Linked DNA regions of Homo sapiens: regions 2, 3, 4 and 5 are each linked to region 1. The links are contacts of gene promoters, found by promoter capture Hi-C in blood cells and fetal thymus (Javierre and others, 2016). All regions are on one chromosome and are shown on one strand. Each heading gives the region's core, a stretch centred on a gene start or on the middle of the fragment in contact. The rest is flanking DNA. Distances are from core to core; before and after follow the strand shown. Region 1 holds the start of IL24 (interleukin 24). Region 2 overlaps SRGAP2 (SLIT-ROBO Rho GTPase activating protein 2). Region 3 overlaps IKBKE (inhibitor of nuclear factor kappa B kinase subunit epsilon). Region 4 overlaps RASSF5 (Ras association domain family member 5). Region 5 overlaps EIF2D (eukaryotic translation initiation factor 2D).

Evidence for each region. Contacts are between HindIII fragments. The CHiCAGO score rates a contact against its expected background, and 5 or more counts as called.
Region 2: a fragment that was not itself captured here is called in contact with the fragment with the promoter of IL24 in region 1 in 1 of 17 cell types (activated CD4 T cells); the score reaches 5.2 in activated CD4 T cells.
Region 3: a contact is called between a fragment that was not itself captured here and the fragment with the promoter of IL24 in region 1, in 2 of 17 cell types (activated CD4 T cells and total CD8 T cells). The highest score is 6.2, in activated CD4 T cells.
Region 4: a contact is called between a fragment that was not itself captured here and the fragment with the promoter of IL24 in region 1, in 2 of 17 cell types (non-activated CD4 T cells and activated CD4 T cells). The highest score is 6.2, in non-activated CD4 T cells.
Region 5: a fragment that was not itself captured here is called in contact with the fragment with the promoter of IL24 in region 1 in 1 of 17 cell types (activated CD4 T cells); the score reaches 6.1 in activated CD4 T cells.

The regions. Positions count from the first base shown.
Region 1 is chr1:206,895,484-206,900,233 of GRCh38, forward strand. IL24 (interleukin 24) reads left to right here and starts at 1,960. Exons shown (of 7, transcript NM_006850.3): 1 at 1,960-2,132; 2 at 2,248-2,393; 3 at 3,837-4,032. The coding sequence starts at 2,350. It overlaps LOC105372879 (a long non-coding RNA gene), which reads right to left and starts at 635. Exons shown (of 2, transcript XR_007066836.1): 1 at 511-635. The HindIII fragment of the contact is 4,835 bases long and covers 1-4,601 here.
Region 2 is chr1:206,453,405-206,458,154 of GRCh38, forward strand. SRGAP2 (SLIT-ROBO Rho GTPase activating protein 2) reads left to right here. Exons shown (of 23, transcript NM_015326.5): 21 at 1,474-1,620. Among named protein-coding and RNA genes, the nearest start is that of IKBKE, 15 kb to the right of the region's middle. RefSeq lists an enhancer at 1,273-1,944. The HindIII fragment of the contact is 257 bases long and covers 1,928-2,184 here.
Region 3 is chr1:206,488,469-206,493,218 of GRCh38, forward strand. IKBKE (inhibitor of nuclear factor kappa B kinase subunit epsilon) reads left to right here. Exons shown (of 22, transcript NM_014002.4): 17 at 2,351-2,390; 18 at 3,180-3,281; 19 at 4,555-4,651. IKBKE-AS1 (IKBKE antisense RNA 1) reads right to left here. Exons shown (of 2, transcript NR_172918.1): 2 at 2,648-4,608. Among named protein-coding and RNA genes, the nearest start is that of IKBKE-AS1, 6.9 kb to the right of the region's middle. The HindIII fragment of the contact is 1,057 bases long and covers 1,856-2,912 here.
Region 4 is chr1:206,562,723-206,567,472 of GRCh38, forward strand. All of the region lies in intron 2 of RASSF5 (Ras association domain family member 5), which reads left to right. Among named protein-coding and RNA genes, the nearest start is that of EIF2D, 47 kb to the right of the region's middle. The HindIII fragment of the contact is 3,892 bases long and covers 396-4,287 here.
Region 5 is chr1:206,597,018-206,601,767 of GRCh38, forward strand. It overlaps EIF2D (eukaryotic translation initiation factor 2D), which reads right to left. Exons shown (of 15, transcript NM_006893.3): 8 at 3,246-3,291; 9 at 2,716-2,819; 10 at 2,446-2,595; 11 at 1,986-2,075; 12 at 83-178. Among named protein-coding and RNA genes, the nearest start is that of EIF2D, 13 kb to the right of the region's middle. The HindIII fragment of the contact is 1,428 bases long and covers 1,702-3,129 here.

The DNA.
Region 1 (4,750 bases), core at 710-3,209:
CTGTTCCAGCCTGCCCTTTAACAGCTCATCCCACCTGCCTGCCCTCCCCGCCTATCTGCAGACAGTAGTCTAGGATTTCAGCTGCCCTGGGGGCTCATTTTCCCTCTCAGCTTCCTGCTTTAGCTGTCTCCTGCCTCCCACTCACCTATTACTCCAGCACTCTCACCTGGTCTTCTTTTCTGTCTCATCACTGCCTCTTGACATCTTTATCTCATAGTAGTTAGTTAGGGGTTCTTGGTAATGCCCTAAATCCACATGGTGGGAAGGGGGGAGTGGGGGAAGAGAGTGCGCTGTGGGGCTGTGCCTACTTCTGGAGGGTAAGACTCGGGCCCTCCAGGAACAAAGGATTCAGGCTGGTGGCAGCTATAGCCAAGCAGACTGCTGGCCAGGGATTGCAAAGGAGTATTTTGTTTGCTTAAGAAAATAAACAACACTGAGTATGAGATGGAGGGAGGGGGTGTTGGTGCCAGAGAGATTGGGAAGAGTCTGCCAAGGGTGTGTTCTACTCACTCTCCTCTTTTCTTTCATCTCCACTGAGCTGGAGGCAGTTATCCTGTCCCCCACGTCACATTCCTACTCCCGTTTCCCATGCCTGGACCCAGGTTGGGCAAACTCTTCCTGTAAAGAACCAGACAGGAACTATTTTAGGCTCTGTGTGCCATATGGTCTCAGTCACAACTACTCATCTCTGCCTCTGTAGCACGAAAGCAATTAGCAACAATATGTCAACAAACATATGTGACCCCATGAAAACTTTATTTATTATGGATACGGAAACCTGAAAATAATGTCTTTCTTTTGATTTTTTCCCCAATCATTAAAAAACGTAAAAACTACTCTTAGGTCGCAAGGTTAAGCCATTCTCAGCTTAGCAGTGGCAGGCTGGATTTGGCTTGTGACCTACAGTTGGCCAATCCCTGATTCCCAAAATGTATTCCTCAGGGATGTGGGCAAATACTTATGGGAAATGCTGGATTAAACAGAGTTAAGAAGCATCAGACATTTCCAGGACGGGCTAGCACATGCCAGGGCTCTCTAACTGACCTCATTAGGATTCATCTGTTTCATGGAGGATCTTGCAAGACAAGAATTCCTCAAACCTAGAGTCTGAGGACTGTGCTTTGGGAAACACTGCTCTGCTTGATGCCCTCACTGGGCACATGGTAGAATCTAGAGCTGAGTGCCTTGCTAGCTGGAGATAGGGTCAGAGCTCTTGACTGCCCTGGCAGTCTTGACACATCACGCTGTCTGTGTCCCCTGAGTGGTTCAGAGCCACACAGGCCAAGACTAGCCCACCAGAGCACCAGGCCTCCCAGCTTTCTGGGCTTGTCCATGCGTACATTTCCTTATTCTTCCTGGTTTCCAGAACCTAAGGAGAGGCACATTTTGGTTGAGTGATTATAACCCTAGGGACCATGGGTAGCTGCATGTCAGGAAACACTCCTCAACTTCCTGGCCCTGATGGATTAAAGGAGAGGTACTTACAGGTTATTTCTTCGCTGTGGACTACTGTCCCAGCATGAATAGGGCATCATTATTGAATTATTTTGACAGGAAGGAGACTGGTGTATGCTGCACAGTAATAATGTATTTACATGTGTACAGAGTTTACCAAGCACCTCTGTGTTGTTTTTGCCTCTGTTTATTACACTTGCCCTTGGGGGGAGGTGGGACAAATTTTTTAAAAATTTATACATGCAGAGACTGCAGCGCAGAGAAGCTAAGAGACTTGCCCCTGCCCACACAGCCAGTGGTAGAGCCTGAACTCAAACCCAGGTCTCATCTCACCTCAGGGGCTGCTTTCCCCATCGCTGTATTGTCCTTAAAGTGATGGGTGACTAGGCAATGAAGTAATTCTCTAGGAAAGCATGACCAATTTCCCTTTCTCCACCTCCCTCTTTTTCCTCCACCCCTCCCCCATCAGCCCCCATATATATGCCCAAATCTCCACAAAGCCTTGCTTGCCTGCAAACCTTTACTTCTGAAATGACTTCCACGGCTGGGACGGGAACCTTCCACCCACAGCTATGCCTCTGATTGGTGAATGGTGAAGGTGCCTGTCTAACTTTTCTGTAAAAAGAACCAGCTGCCTCCAGGCAGCCAGCCCTCAAGCATCACTTACAGGACCAGAGGTGAGCATGGGGGATTCTTGGTTACTTTTTTTTGAAGGACTAGACCTCTGCTTTATTTGTGAAAAGGGGTCAAGGTGGGGACAGCAGAAGTCAATTTTTTTGAGTGTTGATGTAGGGACAAGACATGACTGTGATGAGGAGCTGCTTTCGCCAATTTAACACCAAGAAGAATTGAGGCTGCTTGGGAGGAAGGCCAGGAGGAACACGAGACTGAGAGATGAATTTTCAACAGAGGCTGCAAAGCCTGTGGACTTTAGCCAGGTGCGGTGGCTCACACCTGTAATCCCAGAACTTTGGGAGGCTGAGGTGGGCAGATCATTTAAGGTCAGGAGTTCGAGACCAGCCTGGCCAACATGGTGAAACCCTGTCTCTACTAAAAATACAAAAAAAAATTAGTTGGGCATGTGTTTTTGATATTTTCAGATACAAAAATCCCAGCTACTTGGGCGACTGAGGCATGAGCATCACTTGAACCTGGTAGGCAGAGGTTGCAGTGAGCCGAGATCATGCCACTGCACTCCAGCCTGGGTGACAGACTGAAATTCTGTCAAAAAAAAAAAAAAAAAAAAAAGCCTGTGGAGTTTGAAAGAACAGAATGAAAAGACATTGAGGGAGATGCTAAAGCATAGCCCCCGTCCCCCGTGACCCATAACCCAGGGGTCGCCGCCTCCCTAGCCCAGGTACCAGCAGAACCGGGTCTTCTCTGGTCTTCCTCCCGGTGTAGGGGTGGGAGGCAGTTTCTTTAGGTGTCAGACCAGTGCCTGCAGTAAGAAAGGTTCTTAAATGATTGTGTAAAGAAGTACGAAAGAAAGGGAGAAAGTAAGAAAGGGAGGGAGCGAGAGAGGAAAGAAGGAAGAAAGAAAGGTAAGGAGGGAGGGAGGGAGAGAGGGAGGGAAAGGACAAAGGGCAAAGAAGGCAGGGGGAAAGAAATTCTCTGCATCAGTTATAATAAATACATAATGGCGTTAGGTTCCCCAGCTTGGAGGCTCTTCACTCAGTCCTTCCCAACTGGCACTTCAGAGGAAGGCTTTAGAGATGATTCATCTGGAAATCTGATGCCTCTCTCTCATTTGGTTACTAAAAAAAGTGAATTTTTAGACTCAAGAGTGAGTGGTTAGTGGAGGTGGCATAGTCTGTGTGTGACCCTGACCTGCCCTCTGTGCCCCTCCCTGGGACCAGGATTAACCCCTTGCTCCCTTGTGATGAGGAGTGAGGGACAGCCGTCTCCTGGGGAGGAGAAAAAGACCTGCCAGCCTATGTGTGCCTAGTGGCTTCAGGGCAGAACTTGGATAAGCACATGTCTAGTTCAGCTCTTTGTTTTCCTGGGTTTGGGCTCCCCAGACGTGGCACATTAGAACCTCCCATTTCTCCACTCTTCTGGGTCAAATTCTGACTCGCAGGTTGTAGGCTAGAGAGAACTGCGATGGAGAAGGAGGAGGTGCAGGGCGTGTGGGTGTGGACGGGCAAGGTGGGGAAGAGCAGGTGGACAGATGGCAAGACGAGCGGCCTTAAGTTTGAGGGGCAGAAAGACCCCTGCTTCACCCCCACTGCACCTTAGCAAGGCTGCCGGTTTGCAATAGTCTCAACTTGCCCATTGGAGAGTGCTCGAGATTGGCCCGGGGAGACCCTCGGAGCATTTTCCCAGGGCATGTAACTCTGGGTCAGAGGGCCGGCCTCACAGGCTGCCTCCCTTTCTTTCAGCAGACCCTTCTGCCCTCCTTTGCTGGCGACAGCCTCTCAAATGCAGATGGTTGTGCTCCCTTGCCTGGGTTTTACCCTGCTTCTCTGGAGCCAGGTATCAGGGGCCCAGGGCCAAGAATTCCACTTTGGGCCCTGCCAAGTGAAGGGGGTTGTTCCCCAGAAACTGTGGGAAGCCTTCTGGGCTGTGAAAGACACTATGGTGAGTAAAGTGCTGTTCTGGACCCAGTCGTGGGGGTTCCTGGGGGCAGTGGGCCAGTGGGGCGAGGGGATGCTATTTTATGATTCTGGAGTCCTTCACAGCTTGCTAATCAGTTTCCAGTTTCCCATATAATAACTCTGTGAGGTCAGAAGGCACCACAAGCCCCATTTACACATGAGGAAATTGGGGCTCAGAAAAAATGTGGGCAGCCTCGAGTGAAATAAGCAGTGCCCAAGGGAAACCATGAAGAGAGCTAGATTCATCCAGGCTTCGTCCCGAATAGAGTCTTCGGCTCTAAATCTGAGAACTGGAATGAGTGGCTGGGCTGTGGAGGAAGCTCCAAGGGCAAGAGGCAGCTCTAGGGTGCAGGCTGTCCTCCCTCACATCCTGCTTCCTCACCACATGGAATATGGAGCCAAAATCCTGCCCATAGTGGTTCTTAAAGCAGATAGGCTTATTTCCTCCCATCTCAAATGACCAGAGGCATCAAACTGCTTCCTTATCAAATCTATGTTCATGCTCTAAGAATAAGAAGAACTCCTGGGACTCCATTTGCTCCTGGGGGGCCAAGCTTAGTCATTTTCGTGGCTGCAACCTTGTCTCCCCTCCCCATGGGCCAGCTCAGCCCAGTCCTTCCTGGGTCCTCTTTTGGTCCCTCTGGCCTTTGAGATCTCACAGACTAGATAGATTTAGGGGTCTAGGGAAGCAGCACATATTT
Region 2 (4,750 bases), core at 806-3,305, 440 kb before region 1:
GGGGGTGGTCCCCAGCTGCTCTATGGGAGTGAGACTTCATTTCTGGAGCCATAGGACTATGAGGGAGGCCAACCCCTGGGGGGTCCAGTGCAGTCCTGAGGCTCACACAGTTCCTTGAAGAGCACCCCCCCCACCCCCCGCCCCACTCCCTGCACTCAGTGGAGAATTTTTTTAAATCTCTCCACTATCTGTGCCCCCTGCAAATCACCCCCTAATCCAGTCATTTTAGAAACCTGCCAGCCAGCCAGCACTCATCCATATTTATACCTGATGAGTGATAACAAGGGGTTTTTATTTGACCACCTATATTTCTTTTCTCGAAAGATCAGGCTGGGAAAACATTTTTGTTACTCTCTTTTTTTTTTAAACAACTATGCTCACCCCAACCTGTTGAGCCACTCTTCCACTTGCAAATTAAAATGACTGGTTTTCTAGGAGAAATCCGGCTTAAGCAGCCTTATGGAAGTGACCTAGTTCATTTAACCGAGATGAGGTTGATATAGGGTAAGATGGGGGAAGGAGGGAAAAGGATGTCAAGGAACAAAGGAAACCTGAACTGGTCCCAGAGAGATCTCATCTGATAGGCTGTTGGTTGATTCTCACACTTTGAAGCAGTTGTCCCGTGGGCCCACCCAAGCCTGCCCCCTGTCCGTTTGCCCTGTCTCTGTCCCCAGCTCCCCTCCCTTGGATACGATGCTGTCAGTGTTTTTAGTCCTTCCCTTAATATTATTTTTTAAAGGTTGATATCCTGAGTGAGTCTGCACCCTCCCAGCCTCTTCCCGGCTCGTTCTGCAGGGAAATCCTCCCTCTGTTGATAGCATCGCAAACCTGGTGGCAATCTGTGCGTGGACAGGACCCTCCCAAATTTAGCATTATGACTTCACCACAGGATCAAGAGAAGATGAATTGTGGGGGAGAAGGGGCTTTCTTTGTCATCAGTAGCCAGAGGGGCCAGGAGAGCAGTGGAGAGACCTGGGACCGGCTTGGATGCTCTGAGCGGGGCTAGAGGCGCTACGACAGTGTGTGGCGGTGTCCTGCCACGACGCCGCCGTCTCCAGAGCCACCACACAGTTGACTGTCCTTACCCGGCAGTGCTCAGGACCTCAGCCGATAAACCACAACCTGGACTTGCCGCCTCCTTCTCCAGGAGGCCGCCCCAGCACGGCCTCCCCAGGAAGCAGCATGGGGTAGAAGGCAGATGCCTCGAATCCAGGTGTCCCCTAGCCACGCTTTCCTGAGGAGCTGAGGAGCCCGCAGAACTCAGCGGATTATTTATTTTTATTTAAACGACCCTTCAAAGGCCCTTAGGTTTCCTTGCCTCTGCTCACAGAACTAGTCCAGCCAGGTGTCGCTGCTGCCTCAGAGCTGTGTGGGGTCGCGTGTATGTCGGGGGGCCATCTTGCCGATTTAACGCTGCTTTTTGTGTTGTTGTTGTTTTCCCTCCTCCCTGCCTGCCTGCCCCTTCTCCCCCAGCGAGGACGGTGTCGTGGAGAGGTCCAGCCCCAAGTCTGAGATTGAGGTCATTTCTGAGCCACCTGAAGAAAAGGTGACAGCCAGAGCGGGGGCCAGCTGTCCCAGTGGGGGTCATGTAGCCGATATTTATCTTGCAAACATCAACAAGTAAGCTCTGCTTTTCATTTTCTGCTCCCCTGAATGACTTGCAACACCCAGCCTCACCCTCTGGCCTAACCCCCATCTCCATTCCTGTGCTGCACGTAGGGCTCCCAGCTCCCCCAGCCTAACAGTTTGCATGTGGTCATTGCTGCTGCAAGGCGGACAGGGCTGAGGATGCTGCTACAAGCCTCGGGGCAGGTCCAGGTCTCCAGCTAGCTGCCCTCGTGCTGTGGAAGGGTGCTTTACTGTGTGTTCCCGCAGTGTCTGTCCACCCAGACCTTTGTGGCAGTCTTACAGCTAAAACTTTGACCAAAGCTTTGGTCACTTTATGCAACCTGGTTTTGTACTGTTTCTCAGAGGTGCCTTCTTTTTTCCAATCCATACTCAAATAATAGTCTTTGATGTCTGTCTTCCTTGACCCGTGTTCGTGCAAAGATTCAGAGTCTGTGTGTGGCTTCTACTAGGCTGATGTTACACCAGGTGGGTTTATTGAGATATCATGTGTCTGTTCCTCCCCCTGTCCTGCATTCACTCCTGTGGAGGAAAGGAGGCCACGATGTCCCTAAGGAAAGCTTTGTCCTGAGCTCTTCATTCATTGGCTAACCCCTAGCTCCCTTTTCTTCTGCCCTTTCACACCAGGAGAAATAATTTTCCATTTTGTTCCTATTGCTTTGGCCTTTTGTATTATTCTACCCCCTTAGTCCCTTTGCAGATCCCCACTCCTGCTCAGCAGGCTCTTACCTCTGACCCCCAGCTTTCATTGTGGCTGTTAGCAACATCCTGGGGTTTAAACTCCACCCACGCCCGATCTGGCTGTCTAGAGGGATTCTACGCCTGCGTGCTGCCGCCTCCCCAAGAGGCATTCAGGTTATTGGAGAACTAATCTCATCTCAAGGGGCCAGACACCAAGTCCCAAAGCCTACAGACCTCTTTCCGCCAGGCCCTGAAACCTGGCCCCGTGCCAGCAGGATGACAAGCCCCAGGGCGCTCCTGATGAATATGGATTGGAGATGATGTACAGTTTTTATTCCCCTCTGGCTTTTGAGGAATGAAATGATTTGCACTTTGAAAACCTGTTAACCGTAGCCTCTGGACACTGAGACTGGAAGGAGAATAAAGGATGCTTGTTGTTTTTAAACTATACCAGGTTTCCCAGATCTCTTGGCTTTTTTCCACCCAGACGGTAGCAGGGGGAGTGGTTGGGGCACGTGGCTCTTTTCCATCTCTTTCACCCTCAAGTTAGTAAAGTCGTTTATTCAGATCACTTACTCAGTGTAGTTATAATTTAATTCAGACCAGTTAAAAAAAAATTGAGAAGTTTCTGTTTCCCTCCAGCACACTGCCCTGCTGGGAGGGCAAGCCAATATCAAGTAACTGTGGGCTAATCACATTTTTTTCCTTATTTACAATTCTGTGTTAAATTGTAACCCTACAATCAAAAGGTCGTGATCCTATAATTAACTCAGAAACCAAGGCGGGGTTGGTGGAGGAAGAGTTAGATAATTAGTTAAGTACATATTTTTAAGCCATCATATATTTGATGCCATTTGTGCATAGAAATTGTAGAGAGTAATAACTGAAATGGTAAACAGAAGAAGAAAAAAAAAGAGTATCTGTAGACAGTTAAGGTGGTTCCCTTGAACTCCTTGTTTGCTGGTGTCAGGAGTCTTGGGATGGGGTTCTTGGAGGACAAGCCTCATCACCTGGTGGGTGGGTGAGCGGTGGCCCCGGGGCATGTCTGGCCCTTAGAAGTGAGTCGGCCTTTGAGTCTTACCTCCTGCCCCCCACGCCACTCCTCCTCCCAAATTCCTTGAGTTTCCCGAGTGCCCAGGTTCTCTTTCGCCCCTGGGCGCTCACGCCTGCTGTCTCCTCACCTGGTCACCTCCTCATCTCCCTTCAAGACTCAGTCCGAAGACTTAGCTCTTTGGGGAAGCCATTCTGACATCCCTGACTTCCCCAGGCTGAGTGAGGTGCCCTTATGCTGCATTCCAAAGACACTTTGAATACCTTTTGGTACTCACGCTTCACTCAGATCCCCCACCAGATTGAGCTCCTTGAACCCAGGAACTATATCTTCCTTTTCTTTACATCCCCAGGGCCTAGCCTGGGACATGGCACACCACAGCCACCCCATAAATCTGTCTTCTCAGCAGTTTCAGCCCATGAGTCAGCTATCCTCAAGCAGAAAAAGGAAATCAGCAAAGAGCTATTAGGGTGTGGCACTTCCATTTAATTCTACACATTTATTAAGTATCTACTGTTGTGCCAAGCACTGCTGGTGTTTATTCAGAGATAAAAAAGACGAGGTCCCTGATCTCAGAGCTCACAGTCTGGCAAGGTAAAGACCCTATGGACAGGTAACTGACAGGTAGCATCAGATGCTCTGAAGGTACAGAGGAGGGAGGGGTCCATTCTTCCTGCAACTGGAGTTAGTGGTGCAGTGGTGCCAGTGCAGTTGGAGTTAGTGGTGCCAGGGAAATCCTTGCAGAGAGGGGGTTCATTTCAGCAGGGCCTTAGAAGACTCTGAGAACATCCTTTTTCCACTCGAGAGCGGCTGAGTCACAAGCCTAAAACTGCCGAGTGGACAGACTCACGGAGTGACTGATACATGCCAGGTCCTGGGCCAGGCCCTGCAGGCAGAAAGATGAGGAAGACCTCAGCAGTGAACAGGACTAGGACTGGCTTAGAGCACTGTCCCCACCTCACAGACCAGCTCCTTATCTTCAGAGTCTAACCCCTTCCCTCCTTCCACCTCAACTCCTGCCTCAGCCCCCATCTCTCTTAGATTCAAGATCAGAGCTGTTCAGCAGCCATCCAAATCAGAAGTTTCATTGCCTCTTAGATTAGACCTTTTCAGATCTGATTCCAAGACAAAATGAAATTATCCAGCAGCAGGCAACACCCATGTAACTGGGATTCTGCCAAGCCATTTTGTCTGAGAGCCCTAAGTGGTCTGAAACAAATTCGCCCAGATCCAGGGTTCAGCCCAGTGCTGGGTGACTTGGGAGTCATGTAGAGGTATTTCCACACTAAGAAAACGCACAAACTGGGCCCCAACTCTGCAGTGTTGCTGCCTCTTGAAAACTATTCTGCTCCATGCCTACAGAATAAGCAACAACAGCCTCTTGCCAGAGCC
Region 3 (4,750 bases), core at 1,134-3,633, 410 kb before region 1:
TCCATTAATCCTCACAAGGATGCTGTGGCAGGGGCAGCCCATTTACAGGCTCGGGGGTGGGAAGCTGCTTGTCCAAAGTGACTGCCATTGTGGGGTAGTGCAAGGGTGGGACCCAGGGAGGGCTGGTGAGGGGGTTGGAGGGAGCCTGCGGAGGCTCCAGTTGACTCCTCAGGTTGGGGAACTAACACACCAGGAACCAAACCTCCCCCTCCTCTCCCAGGCCCCAAGCATTTCCTAATCTGTAGGCTGAAGGTCTTGGGCTTTATTGCCAAATTCTCTTCTCTCCTTGGGATTATCTAAAAACCACTGTCCAATAGAAATATAATGCCAGACACGTATGTAATTCTAAGTCTTCTAGTAGCCAATTTTTAAAAAGTAGAAAGAAACAAGTGAAATTAATTTTAATGTGTTATTCAACCCAATATATCCAGTGTCATTTTAGCGTGTAATCAATATAAACAAAATCACTAAGGAAATACCTTATATTCTTTTTGTGTTATCTTCAAAATCCCACGTGTATATATACACATAAATATATAACTTATTTCCTTAGCAATTCTGTTTATATTGATTACATGCTAATATATATATTTGAGACAGGGCCTTTGTCACCCAGGCAGGAGTACAATGGCATGATCACTGCTCACTGTCGCCTCAACCTCCTGGGCTCAAGCCATCCTCCCATCTCAGGCTCCTGACTAGCTGGGACTACAGGATGCTTTCCCATCACTTCATTGTTTTATATTTCACATATATATATATAATTCATATATATATTATTCACATATATATATTATTCATATATATATTATTCACATATATATAACATTTATAACACATCTCTATTGGGAAACTAAATTTTATATATGTGTGTATATGTGTGTGTGTGTGTGTGTGTGTGTATATATATATATATATATATATATATATATACACACACACACATACATGGAGCTGTGTGCAGTGGCTCATGTCTGTAATCTCAGCACTTTGGAAAACTGAAGCGGGAGGATCACTTGGGCCCAGGAGTTCAAGACCAGCCTGGGCAACATAGCAAGACCCCGTCTCTACAAAAAATAAACAAAACTAGCTGGACGTGGGCATGCGCCTGTAGTCCTAACTACTTGGGAGGCTGAGGTGGGAGGATCACCTGAGCCTGGGAGCTGGGAGTTCGAGACTGCAGTGAGCTAAGATCACACCACTGCAGCACTCCAGCCAGGGCAAGAGCGAGACCCTGTCTCAAACAACAACAATAACAAAACCTCTAGGCATCATTACCCTCCCCATTTTATAGATGAGAAAACCAAGACACAGAAAGGTTAAGTAGCCCAAGTAATCTAGGTCCAGCTGCTTTTAACTATCCCATTTTACAGCCTCAAAGGAGTTTTACTTCTATTGGTCTTTAAGAGTCCTTTAATAAAATTAAAAATGAACCCCTAACTGTTAAAACCCAGCGTGTTGAAAGATACCATTTTTTAAAATGCCCGGTGGTCTTCAGGCTCTCTCGCATGAGCCTCACGGGACTCCCAAGTGGCACCTGTGATGGATAAGGAGACAGGCTCAGCGAAGTGAAATCACTCGCCTAGTGCCGCCTGCCAACAGGAGGAAGGGCTGAGGTTTGTCCCAGGTCTCTCGGACTGCACACATGCTCTTAGCTGGCCGAGTGCAGGGCCCAGGAGGGGGACTCTGCTATGAGAGGAGTGGGATGGGGAGGCCCTCGAAGTGAACCGCCATCATCATTTCATCTTGGGGCTGCCGCCACCCTGGAGGCCCATTCCTGCGAAGACCAGGAGGGGGCAGCATCTCCCTAGTGCATGAGCCTTAGGGCCCTTCAGGAGGCAGCCAAGGCCATGAAAGCTTCAGCCTTTCTGGCAAAAGTGGCTGGGCAGAGCGGGGAGGTAGAAGGTGGTGGCCTGATTTCTCCAGCTCGTTGCAGGTAGCGCCCATGAACATTCAGGGATGGGACCACCCAGCTGCAGGCATCAGTCACTCTGGGAGGGTGCTGGATAAGGGGCTATGGTTGACCGAGCCTCCTTCTAAGCCCACTTCATCCACCAACTCCCACCTGAAGCATCCCCCACGTCCCCACCCCGGCCCTGCACTGCAGGCTGCCTTCCCCTGGGGCCCTCACACAATTTCCCCATGGCTTCTTGAGGCCCTGGCTTTGTCCTAATCAGCTATTCCGGTGCTAGCTTCACTCCTCTGCCCCTCCTGCTCCGCTGGGCGGTGAGTTCCCGTGAAGCAGCACAGGCTGGGCCGTCTTCATCTTTTAACTGTCTCTCGACCTTTGCTGCACACTGTTTCGTTGACTGATTGAATAGGTGACATCTGTTCTGTCTGTTTCCTCCAGGGCTTGGCTACAACGAGGAGCAGATTCACAAGCTGGATAAGTGAGTGGCCTGTCCTCCGGCAGGTGGGTGGGCAGGAGGGTGGGTGTCCTCAGGGCAGAGCGATTCTCAACGCCAGAGGAGAGGCAGTGAAGGGCCCTGTCCCGGACTGCAGCTGAGCAGAGTTGGGGATAACAGGTTATCTGGGGCCAGGGGAGGGAGTATGCATAGCTTAGTTGGAGGGAGACTTCTCAGATGCAATCTTGAAGTAACTGGATTTACTTCTGGTATGGACAAGACTGTTTGCAGGCTTTTTTTTTCTCTAGTTGTCCTCACTGATGCACCACTTACCACTTCCTGCTTCTGCCCTCTGCCTGAACCTTCCCTGCCTCCCCCCGCTCCTCTGTCTCCCATGTTTCCCGGACACACTCACGTCCAGGAGGCCCTCCCTGATTTAATGGTTATCTGGGAACTCACTCCCCCAGTTCTACAAGCACCCCGACCCCTTTTTGTCTCACACACACACGCACTCACACACCTTCTTTCCACGGCTGCCTCACTTTCCCTTCCCTTTCCTGAGGACTAAGCTTGAGCACATGTGTGTTCCCTGAGGACCCCCTGTGTGTCTCCCACGTCTCCCTGTTGATGTGGGCTTTGCTGGCCACTGCAACCTTCACAATCCAAGTGTGTGACCGTCCTTCCTCCTTTCCCAGAGACATAGCCCTGCTGTGGACGCAGGGCTTGGGCACTTACGACAAGGTGGTGACGGAGACTGACGGAGACTGAGGGATGGTGGGCTTGTGCATAGTGGTTCTGGCAGCTCATCTGCACCTTGGTTCTCTGTCGTTCTAGGGTGAATTTCAGTCATTTAGCCAAAAGACTCCTGCAGGTGTTCCAGGAGGAGTGCGTGCAGAAGTATCAAGCGTCCTTAGTCACACACGGCAAGAGGATGAGGTAACAGCCCCTCCTGAGCTCCTGGAGCCCAGGGCCTGGCCTGGCCCTTCTAGGCTTCAGAGGACCCAGGGCTTTGTGGAGCCCTGAGGCAGAGGGAGGAGTGAGTGAAGGGGTGTGAGCAGAGGAGTGGTTTTCTGTCCCTGGGTGGACCAGGCAGTTGGCTGGGAGATTTCTGTAGCTCAGCTTATTTACTCCTACAACACCTGCCCTATACAGTAGATATCATCACCCTATTTCCTAGGTGAGGAAACTGAGGCTCTGAGAACAGGTCTCCTCTGCACATCACATGGCTAGTAAGTGGCAGACCCAAGACTCGTATGTGGCTCTGCCTGCCTCTACAATCTAGATTCTTCAGGGCTTTTGAGGGGTAAAATCAAATCAAATCTGGATTCTTTCTACCGTTCCACCTGGTTATATTGAGAAGTCTCCTTTAGGAGAACACTAGGTGCCCCTGGGATAAGGACAGTGGCAGTGGCCCTTAAGTAGAACCTTCTGTCACACTGTCCCCTTCAGGAGTTTTGGGTTCCGCCTTCTCAGATCAGGCCCACTCTCCATCCCCTGCCTGTGTGAACACTGGCCCCTCCTGAGAAGAGAGGACAATTTCCCACGTGCTACCACATTCTGAGGCCTGTAGGACCTCACCTTGTTATGGGGCTGAGACCTTGGCACTCACCCGTCCTCATATCAGAATACCAATGCCTGCTTCTTCTACTCCAACCCACCACACATTCTGGTGTAATTGCTCTGGAGCAGGGCTTGGATGTCAGTGTAGTACAGCTTCTCCAGGTGATTCTAATGTGTGGCGAGGGCTGACCTCCAACCCCTGATTTAACAGCTCTGGGCCTTGGGGAAAATGTTCCTGTTCCTTCACTCCACTTAGAGATAGAAGAGAATTCACACTGGAAATGAGAGCGTGGGCAGTTCCCCACACTGAGAGCCCTGGTGTGGGCTATCCTCTGCCTCTCTGCAGCCTGACTGGTGCCACGCTCACCATAGGTGGCATGCGTCACCCAGCCCCAGCCACATGCATGTTGTTGGTGCTCCACACTACGGCTCTGAAGGGGGCCTCCCAGCCTCAGCCAGCTGTGTGCTTCTGCATTATTGCAGTGGGGCGGGCAAGCGTGGAGGGCACAGCTGGCAGGGCAGAGGCAGCGAGGGAGGCAAATACCCGGGACCCACCTGTGTCCATGTGTGGATCCGATGGCAGCTAGGCGAGCCCTGGGGAATGGGCTGAGTCCTGCTCTAATTCTAAGTCTCTGTGTGTTCTCTTGAGGGTGGTGCACGAGACCAGGAACCACCTGCGCCTGGTTGGCTGTTCTGTGGCTGCCTGTAACACAGAAGCCCAGGGGGTCCAGGAGAGTCTCAGCAAGGTGGGCATGGCAGAAGGATTCTAGGTGCTCTGGGGATGCAGGCTGGGGCGCTTGTTACCCATGTCTTCCCCTCCTCCAGCACTCCCCCTACCCAGCCAC
Region 4 (4,750 bases), core at 1,092-3,591, 330 kb before region 1:
GAGATCCAGACCATCCTGGCTAACCTGGTGAAACCCCATCTCTACTGAAAAATAGAAAAAATTAGCCAGGCGTGGTGGCAGGCTAACTACTTGGGAGGCTGAGGCAGGAGAATGGTGTGAACCCGGGAGGCGGAGCTTGCAGTAAGCCAAGATCGTGCCACTGCACTCCAGCCTGGGCGACAGAACGAGTCTCTGTCTCAAAAAAAAAAAGCCAGTATTGACCAAATACTGCTTGGGTTGAATTGCTGCATCTTCTCTCTTGCATCCTGTACAATCAGGATGGACTAACTTGAAACAACCCCTGCTTTTCAGTCATTGAATATAATCAGAGGTTTATTTCCCCCTTTACTTAAAAAAGTTAGATTGGCAGGTGGGGATCAGGATAACACATGGGAAGCTTGTGGGCCAGACCCGGAAATGGTGGGTGTTTCTTGCAACCACGGGCCATTGGCTGGAACTCAGTCACGTGGCCACACCTAACCACAGGGGAGGTTGGGAAGTGAAGTACAGCTGTGAGCCCTGGTAGAAAAGGAAGCAGGTTGTGGTGAGCATTTAGCTGTCTCTGCCACACATGCCTCCTGCCACCGTTTCTGCGCCAGGCACCTGGGAAGCTCTGCTCATAACTGCTTGGTAAAGGACATGACCTGTTTCTTTGACCTTGTACCTCTCTCTCATCTGTCACTGAGGATATTCTGTTCTTGGGATTGGGTCCTGTCTCCCCCATCTAAACTGGAAATCTCTTGAGGACGGGTGCTTTTCCTCACTCAGCACTTCTCTGGTTTCTCTGTAGCATCTGAAACCTTCAGTGTTGCATCAAGGTGGCCTCAACCACCTGCACCAGAACTACTCTTTGAGAATGGAGTTTCAGGGGCCCTACTCCAGAGCTACTGGCTCCTGAATCTTTGGAGATGGGACCCTGGATTCTGCTTTTCTAATACTTTTCCCAGGTGATTCTCATATATGCTGCAATCTAGGAACCACCTGTTTAGGAAATATTTGGTAATTGACTGCTTACCCCAATTGGAATGCAAGAAGAGAATGTGTCACAGATTCCTAAGAGGTTCCTAGGCTGGAAACTGAAGTCTAGAGAGGGAAGAGGATTTGCCCCCAGTCACACAGCTCAGTAGAGACAGATTCAAGGAGTCAGGCCCCCTGGGTCCTGCTCAGAGCTTTCTCTGCTAGTCTCATCACCACAAGCTGAACTCTTATTTCAAGGCCCTTTGAGATCTTGATGGCACATGATGTAAGGGAAGACACACAGCACTAACTGTAAATGAAGTCCTCCCTTCCCATCCAGCTCAAGCCACTAAGAGGTTATGGCCAAGTCATTTCAATCATCAGACTCAGGTACTTCATCCTGTCCTTCTCAACAAACACCCTTGTCATGTGAGTGTCCTTATCTTCCCTGCTGAGAGTCCCTTGCCTCTTTGCATGGGAACAGACCCTTTTTACTAGTTTCTCATGGGCCTGGTAGGGATTCTAGATATTGGCTGCCAAGTTCTCTAAACCATAAGGACTTCCCCTAGGGAGGGGTCAGAGAGACGACCTCCTCCAGGACCACCTGGAACTCACCCAAGACATCCTTGTTCACACGCCGCTTAGTCCAGGCCATCCCTCACTCTCTGTTCTGGTTCCTCCCCTCCTGCCCTCCTTCTGTCTTCACAGGTTTAGATAGTTTATCCAGAATCAGCTTTTCCCTATAAAGCAATTTCACTTACAGTTTGGGACACATAATATCCACCCACCCAAGCAGTTTAGGGAGAAAAGAAGAAAGATTTTATGCCAGTATCAAACCTTGAATCCCAGGTCTTATTGCACACTGTCAGATCAGGCTTTGGATCCAACTCCCAGCCTAGGAGCTTGAAGGGGTCCTAGCTTGGGGACCTCGATTCTCTTCTCTTCTGCTCTTCACTTACCAGGTACCCCACACCTGTGTATCTTCTGGCTTTGGGAGCTCCCTGGGTGGGGAACTGAGACCTGTCCTGCAGGTCCTTGGTTTCTTCTTCTTCATGGTTTAGTCTACCTCAAAGAGCATGGGGTGGGGATCCAGACCTAGCCTGGCATATTTTCCAGAGACAAGAGGATGAGATAAAGTGCCACGAATCAGGAGCACTTGATTTCAGGGCCAGGAGGAAGAAAAGAGCTGCACTGACAGACAGCTTCAGGCTTGAATTGCTGAGCCTGTGGCTTCTGTTCACAGAAGGCTTCTGTCCTGGGGGCTCATCTCCCCTCTTCTCCCACAGCATCCCAGCTTTAGCTAATCACTCTCCAGCCTACATCCCTCGCCCCACCTCTCTTCCTAGCTCTAGAATGGCATTTTCTACAGCTTCCTGGAGGTCTCAGATACCTTAAATTTAGTATGTCCAGAACCAACTCATAACTCATTTATTTCTCTGTCTCTGCCCCACCCTCCTAGTCCCCCACCTTCAATACCTCAGGGGTCTTCACCTCTTCTATTCACCCCATCTGTCCCCGCAGTGCTGCAGAGGTCAGGCCTCTCCTCTCTGTCCCCGCCTCACCCTGTGTTGGCTGCTCATAGCCTCTCACTGAGATGCCCCAGTAAGTCAGTTACCCTGCAGTTTCAATCCTGTGTTTTCCCCTCTGTGTATCCTGCCTACAACTGCCAAGGGCTTATTTTTCCCATATCCCAAAATTTTCCCAGGTTCCCTTTCCTTCCGGAGTGAAGCCCATACTTGGTTCTCCCTCTTTAGTACAGCGTCCAAACTCTGCAGCACCTGGCCTCAGTCAGAATGTTGTGTTTTTAACTTTCCTATAGCACTGAGCACCACAGGTGGGGGACATAAAGATGGATGAGATGGGGTTTCTGTACTTGAAGGCCTTAGGGCCCCCAGCCCACATTGTGTAACAGACCCTAGCTGCTCCCCTTCCCCATCCATGAAGTGTTTGGATGGAGGCCCTTCCATATCCTAGTGGAAGATGCTCTCAGCAACTGCCTTGCAGCCACATGGCCTTTATCATGACATGGCAGCAACTCCTGAGACAGGGAGGATGGAGGGCCTGACTCCTAGAATCAAAGGGTTTGAACAGGAATTGCCCACGAGGGGCTGGGAACAGGCTGCCAGCAGACACAGTGACAGAGCTGCACCACCACTGAGGAGGATGGAGGGGGATTTACCTCACCTCTGAAAAGCAGAGCCTCCTGGAGCTGGAGGAGATGGTTAGGGGTTATCACAGCCATTCCTCTGTCCCCATGCAGGACTGCACATAACCCATGACAGGCAGGGGAAGGAAGGTCTGTTCATTACCACCATCCTAAGTTAGTTTACCATCTTAGACTAAGTTAATTTACCATCCTAAGCAAGAAAAGCAGGGAGGGAGGCAGCAGAGTGTTCATGCCTGACAGATGTCGCTGGCGGAATTTCTGCTACCATCAAGCCAAAAAGTTGACACATTCTATGAGGTAACATGTGAAAGGGGGTGAGCCAAGGGCAAGGTTGCCAGCCCCCATGCTTGTCCAGCTCTAAAGCACATGCTCATCCCACCACACACACAGCTGAGGGAAGAGTCCAGCTTTGAAAGGCTCCAAATAAGCTCCAGTCACCCCTCTCAAGCTCTGATGTCCTGCCGTAGGAAGCTGTTTTTCTCATTCAGTCAATTTCCTGATGCTGAAATTCAGGCCGTTTTTTCCTGTTCTAGTCTTGGGAAATCTGGGTTACTGTACTTTGTTATCATGATCATCTCATCAGCCTCCAATTCGTGAACCCCTCATTATCCTCCTCATCTCCAGGCTCTCCCCCATGTGGTGAGTGGTGGTGAACTGTTCCCCCCACTTTGCTGTGGATGACATGCAGGAACTGGGTCTGCAGGGCCCTCGCTTTGCAGTGGGGAGCAAGAGGCAGGTCTTCTCACCCCAGAACTGAAGCTCCACCTATCCCCTCCGTTGGCTGGAGCACAGTGAAGAGGCACTTGGCACCTATAATGTCGATGCTCACAATTGGCTGGGAAGGCGTGGGTTCAGGAGGAGAATGTGGGAGCTGGTGATTCCAGAGTGTTAGAGGGCATTTCCAGTTGTAACTCAGATGTCCCCTTCTCTGTGCTCCCCAAACACCTCGCCGCTCTTTCTCTCCTATCTCTCCTTTCAATGGGCTATAATTTTCTGGACCAGGGACCATAGCTTGTTCATCACTGTGTCCCCTGGCACGTGGTAAGTGCTTAATGTGGGTTTGACAGAGGAGGAGTGGGTTTGGAGCTTCTTTCCCAGGGGACATGAGCAAGTACTTTAGGGCAAGGTTTGTGAAAGTTGATCTCAGGACTATTTTAAAGGGAAGCTTGCTAAGATTCTGGATGTGGAATAAATGGATTTTTCCAGTTATCAGGAAATGAAAAATCCCACTGAGTGAGCAGAAAATGCAAGGACAACTTTTCAAACCTACAGCAGCCCCCACCACCCCAGCTGTGATTGTTCAGCTGTTTGCGCTGGAGGAAGGGGGTAGGCAGGGCTGGGTCACTAAGCAACCAAGCCCTGGCACCTGCTGGCAGGAGAGTTGGCGTGGGTCTTCTGTCTTCCTCTAGTGGGGCCTCCGAGGGGGTTGGGCAGAGGGGTCCATGGGAGGGAGCGGGGGAGCCTGCTCTGACAGATTCCCTCTGTCTGCCTTTCAGCTTTGGGGAATGGCAGATTGGGGAGGAAGAAACCCATAAATCTTTTGTTTATTTTACTCTCCCAATTTAATATTGAGTGGGTGAAAGATCCTGGTTTGGCAGTGCCATTGGTCTGGGCACCCACAGTCAA
Region 5 (4,750 bases), core at 1,166-3,665, 300 kb before region 1:
AGTGACAGTATTAAAGTTCAATGTGATCAACATTAAGGCGAGGGGATAGAAAAGTTGGAGAGGGACTGCCAATGCTCGTTACCTGGTCAGAAGACTGTCCCATGGAAGCTTCATGACTGTATGCTGTTCATTTTTCTCTAAGATGCAGTCACATAGGATGGGATCCAATCTCACAAGACTAAAGGGAAAGAAGAGGCAATGAAGAAATCCTAGACTTGTCCCTTCTGACCTGAAGGCTAATTCAGGATTCATCTCTCGTACGGCCTTTATAGACATTCAGGATATGAATCAATTATGGGCCCACAGTCCAAAAGGCAATGTACCTTATGGGTGGGAGATACACGAATGCTTTCCTAGGAAAAGCAGGAGGTGGAAGGGAAAGTGAGATGGGATAAATTTGAAGATCAGGAGCCTTTGCTACTAACTAAGCATGTGACCACAGCTTTCTAAGCTTAGCATCAAAATTGGCTAGTGAGGAAGAAAGAAAGGAAGTGGGGATCTTTAAAATGAAGGTGTTGGCCAGGTGCAGTGGCTCACGCCTGTAATCCCAGCACTTTGGGAGGCTGAGGCGGGAGGATCACCTGAGGTCAAAAGTTCAAGACCAGCCTGGCCAACATGGTAAAACCCCATCTCTACTAAAAATAGGGCCGGGCGCAGTGGCCCACGCCTGTAATCCCAGCACTTTGGGACGCCGAGATGGGTGGATCACTTGAGGTCAGGAGTTCAAGACTAGCCTGGCCAACATGGTGAAACCCCGTCTCTACTAAAAATACAAAAATTAGCCGGGCATGGTGGCGCATCCCTGTAATTCCAGCTACTTGGGAGGCTGAGGCAGGAGAATCGCTTGAACCTGGGAGGCAGAGGTTGCAGTGAGCACAGATTGTACCATTGCACTCCAGCCTGGGCAACAAGAGCAAAACTCTGTCTCAAAAATAAAAATAAAACATAAAATAAAATGAAGGTATTAGATTAGGCTGGTATGTCTCAACTTTTTTATCATGATGATGTTTTTTTAAAGTGAAAAAAAAATTTTTTTTTGAGATGGGGTTTCACTGTATCACCCAGGTTGCAGTGCAGTGGCATCATCATTGCTCACTGCAGCCTCAACCTCTTGGGCTCAAGCGATCCTCCCACCTCAACCTCCCAAGTGGCTGAGACTACAGGCATGCCCTACCATGCCCGGCTAATTTTTGTATTTTTTGTAGCGACAGGGTTTCATCATGCTGCTCAGGTGGGTCTCAAACCCCTGGCCTCAAGCAATCCTCCCACCTCAACCTACAAAAATGTTGGGATTACAGACATAAGCCACAGTGTCCGGCCATTAAAGTAAAAAACAATTAATGGAACTCTCTTCATCTGGTAGTTTACCATCTGTATCTCCTTTTAAGAAAATAATACCATAATGGGTACAAATATACAGTTAGATAGAAGAAATAAGTTTAGTCTTTGAGAGCAGAGTAAGGTGACTGTAGTTAACAACAATGTATTGTGTATGTCAAAATAGCTAGAAAAGAGGACTTACAGTGTTCCCGACACATAGAAATGGTAAATACTCAAGGTGATGATACCCCAAATACCCTGCCTTGATCGTTATACACTCTGTGCATGTAACAAAATACCATGCACCCCATAAATATGTACAAATATCTATCAATAAAAATAAATACCTAAAGCTATGATGACTTCAGTAAATTCTTTGTAAGCTTGCATTTTATTCCTCACAATAGCCAATTAAAGATGATTCATGGGTATTTGTGAGAGAATATTTACTTAGTCGGTAGTCAATGTTGATCGTATACATGGATCTGAACACCCCAGACAATAACTGAGTGTCCACAGCCCATGGTTTGGAAACCACTGATCTTAATTACCTCTAAGATGCTATGGTTTTCTATTCTCCCTCCCAGACATCCTCCCCAAATGTGTCTATGTCTGATAAAGACAAAGACCCAATAAGACAGATCTGGTGCTTCTCATGCACTCACTTTTTGTTGTCTGCATCAACCAGGTCATTTTTCTTGGCGTAGTTAATGACGATCGTTCGGACCTCACTGCCCTCCAGAAAGCTCCCCTTCCTAGGTGAGGAGAAGTGACCCAGGGGTTAGTTCATGCTGTGCCATGAGACAAAAATGCAGATGCCCAGACTCACTCCCTGCTGAGCAGGGAACTTTCCTTAGCTTTCGGCCTCTAGTTTCTTCCCTTTTCCTGACTGAAGTGAGCATGACCATGTGAAGAATAATTACACGCAGAAAAGGGTGAGACCTACTCGTTCATTTAGTCCAGAGGAACTTGCCCAGGGAAGAAGGCTGGAAGCTGGATTTTGGAGAAGGGGAGAACAGGGGCAGAGCAGGTTTTGCCAGTCGCAAAAGAGCACTACTCAGGTTGAGAGGAACTGTAGGCCAGAACACCAAGCAGGCAGAGAAGGGCTGCTCTCCAAAAACTCACTTGTGGCCAGACTCCTGGAAGAGCAGGGTCATGCTGGCTGGGACACAGTAGAGGGGTTTTATATCTGGAGGGTGATAGGGCTGTTCCCTGCTACCCTCCTGGATAGTCTGGGAGGTCGGGGAGGGCTCGGGTATGACGAAAGATGTAATCCTAAAACCCAGCAGAAGGAAAGAAAAAACACATTTTATACTAGCATCTCAGCAATCCCCAGTCCGTGGCCCAGGTGCCCTGGGGCCAGCTGGGCTACAGTGACAGGCCCCCTGCACTCACCTCGGGTGTTTCCAGTCCACAGCCACAATGCTCTCCACCCCTTTGCTCAGCTCCTTCACCTGTATAATCTGCTCCTGCTGCATTTGCTGCAGGAACTTAGAGAGCTAAGGGAGAGAGGGCCAGTGGTAGGGGACTTCATTGATTCCACACACATACTGAGCACCCAGGATGTGCCAGAGTGAGCTAGGCAGGGACTGTGCAGGGATATGAGACAGCCCCTGCCTTCATCAACCAGGAACTGGGAGGCCCCCAACCTGAGGGCCAGGGAGCAAGAAGCTGCTAGAGACTAACCAGTGAGGCCGTTCAGAACTCTAATCAGATATAAAGGGGTCAAAGGAGAAAGGAAAGTGGGTGCCACCAACTGCTTCAGCCCAGGGAGAGTTTCTTTCTTCCCCCTTATACTTGGAGTCAAAAAGCTTAATTCTAGACTGAGCCTGGTAGACAAGGCTTCCCCAGCATCCATCTGGCTTATGTCATATGTGCCCCTACACAACTCTCTGCATGGGTCTGCAAAGAAGATCCTTGCTTACCTTTTTGTAGCTTGACTTCTTTATGTCCAGTTGTCGTCCTTCGGGGCTGATGGCAGATGGAAAAGGCAAATTAAACTAATGAGCAGTCATACTGGGACCTGCCTGACACTGAGAGGAGGGCCTTTTTCCTCAGCCTTCCTCCCCCACCTTCAGAGAGAGGCCACTGTGCCAGAACTCTCTGCCCAGGGATGACAGCAGAGAGGGATGCAGACTATGGGACATTCTAAATCAGTGCTGTTCAAGAGAACTTTCCATAGACGTGGAATGTTCTCTGTGTTGTCTAACAGGGCAGCCATTAGCCACATGTGGGTAGTAAGTACTTGAAGTGTGACTAATGTGACCAAGGGAACTGAATTTTAAATTTTATTTACTTTAAATTAATTTAAACTGAAAATAGCGACATGTGGCCAGTGGCTACCACATTGGATACAGCCTTAGATTCCTCCCAGACCAGACAACCTTCTGTGGCCTCCAAAGTTGCAACAGCAAACTCACACTGTGGGCAGCCAGGCCTGGAGTGGGGCCCAGCAAGCCGCATCCTGGGGTCAGGTCTGGCCAACTAATTATCTACTGTCTATGGTCACATTAGTGCTACAATGGCAGCATCGAGCAGTTGCAACAGAGATGGTGTGGCCTGCAAAACTGAAAATATTCATATTTACTATCTGGCCCTTTACAGAAAAACATGCTGACCCCTGCACTACAGCAATTAGTTTTGGAGAGAACATTCCTGATAAAAGCTTACATCTTCTCTCAAAACATGACACGCAATAGCAGTGGATTCTCGAGGAGTCCTTCTAGAATCCACCCCAGAATCCTATCCTACAGAATATTCTGGGGCCCCTTTACCATATATTTGCAACCCAAGAAAGTCAGAACAGATTACCAAGTATCCCTCCACACACTCCAGACACCACATTTGTACAGGATAGCTTAAAGACACCCAAGTATAAATGGGAAGACATTACATTAAGAATCACTTTTTTAAAAAACCACAGCCAGATTCTCAAAAAGAAATAAATTCAGGCCGGACACAGTGGCTCACGCCTGTAATCCCAGCACTACGGGAGGCCGAGGCAGGCGGATCACTTGAGGTTAGGAGTTCAAAACCAGCCTGGGCAACATGGTGATACCCCATCTTTACTAAAAATACAAAAATTAGCTGCACATGGTGGCATGTGCCTGTAATCCCAGCTACTCGGGAAGGCTGAGGCAGGAGAATCTCTTGAACCTGGGAGGCAGGGGTTGCAGTGAGCCGAGATCACGCCACTGTACTCCAGCCTGGGTGACAGAGTGAAACTGTGTCTCAAAACAAAAAATAAATAAATAAATAAATTCAATCTCAGGGTAAAAATCAATAAGCAAACCTCCTGACATGATAGTATTTACTGAATGCTTATTATGGTTCAGGCTATGTAATCTTTACAGCAATCCCATGATTATTAGAAATTAGGACTCAGAGAAGCCCAGTAACAAGCTAAAATGCACATTGCTTGAACACCCTG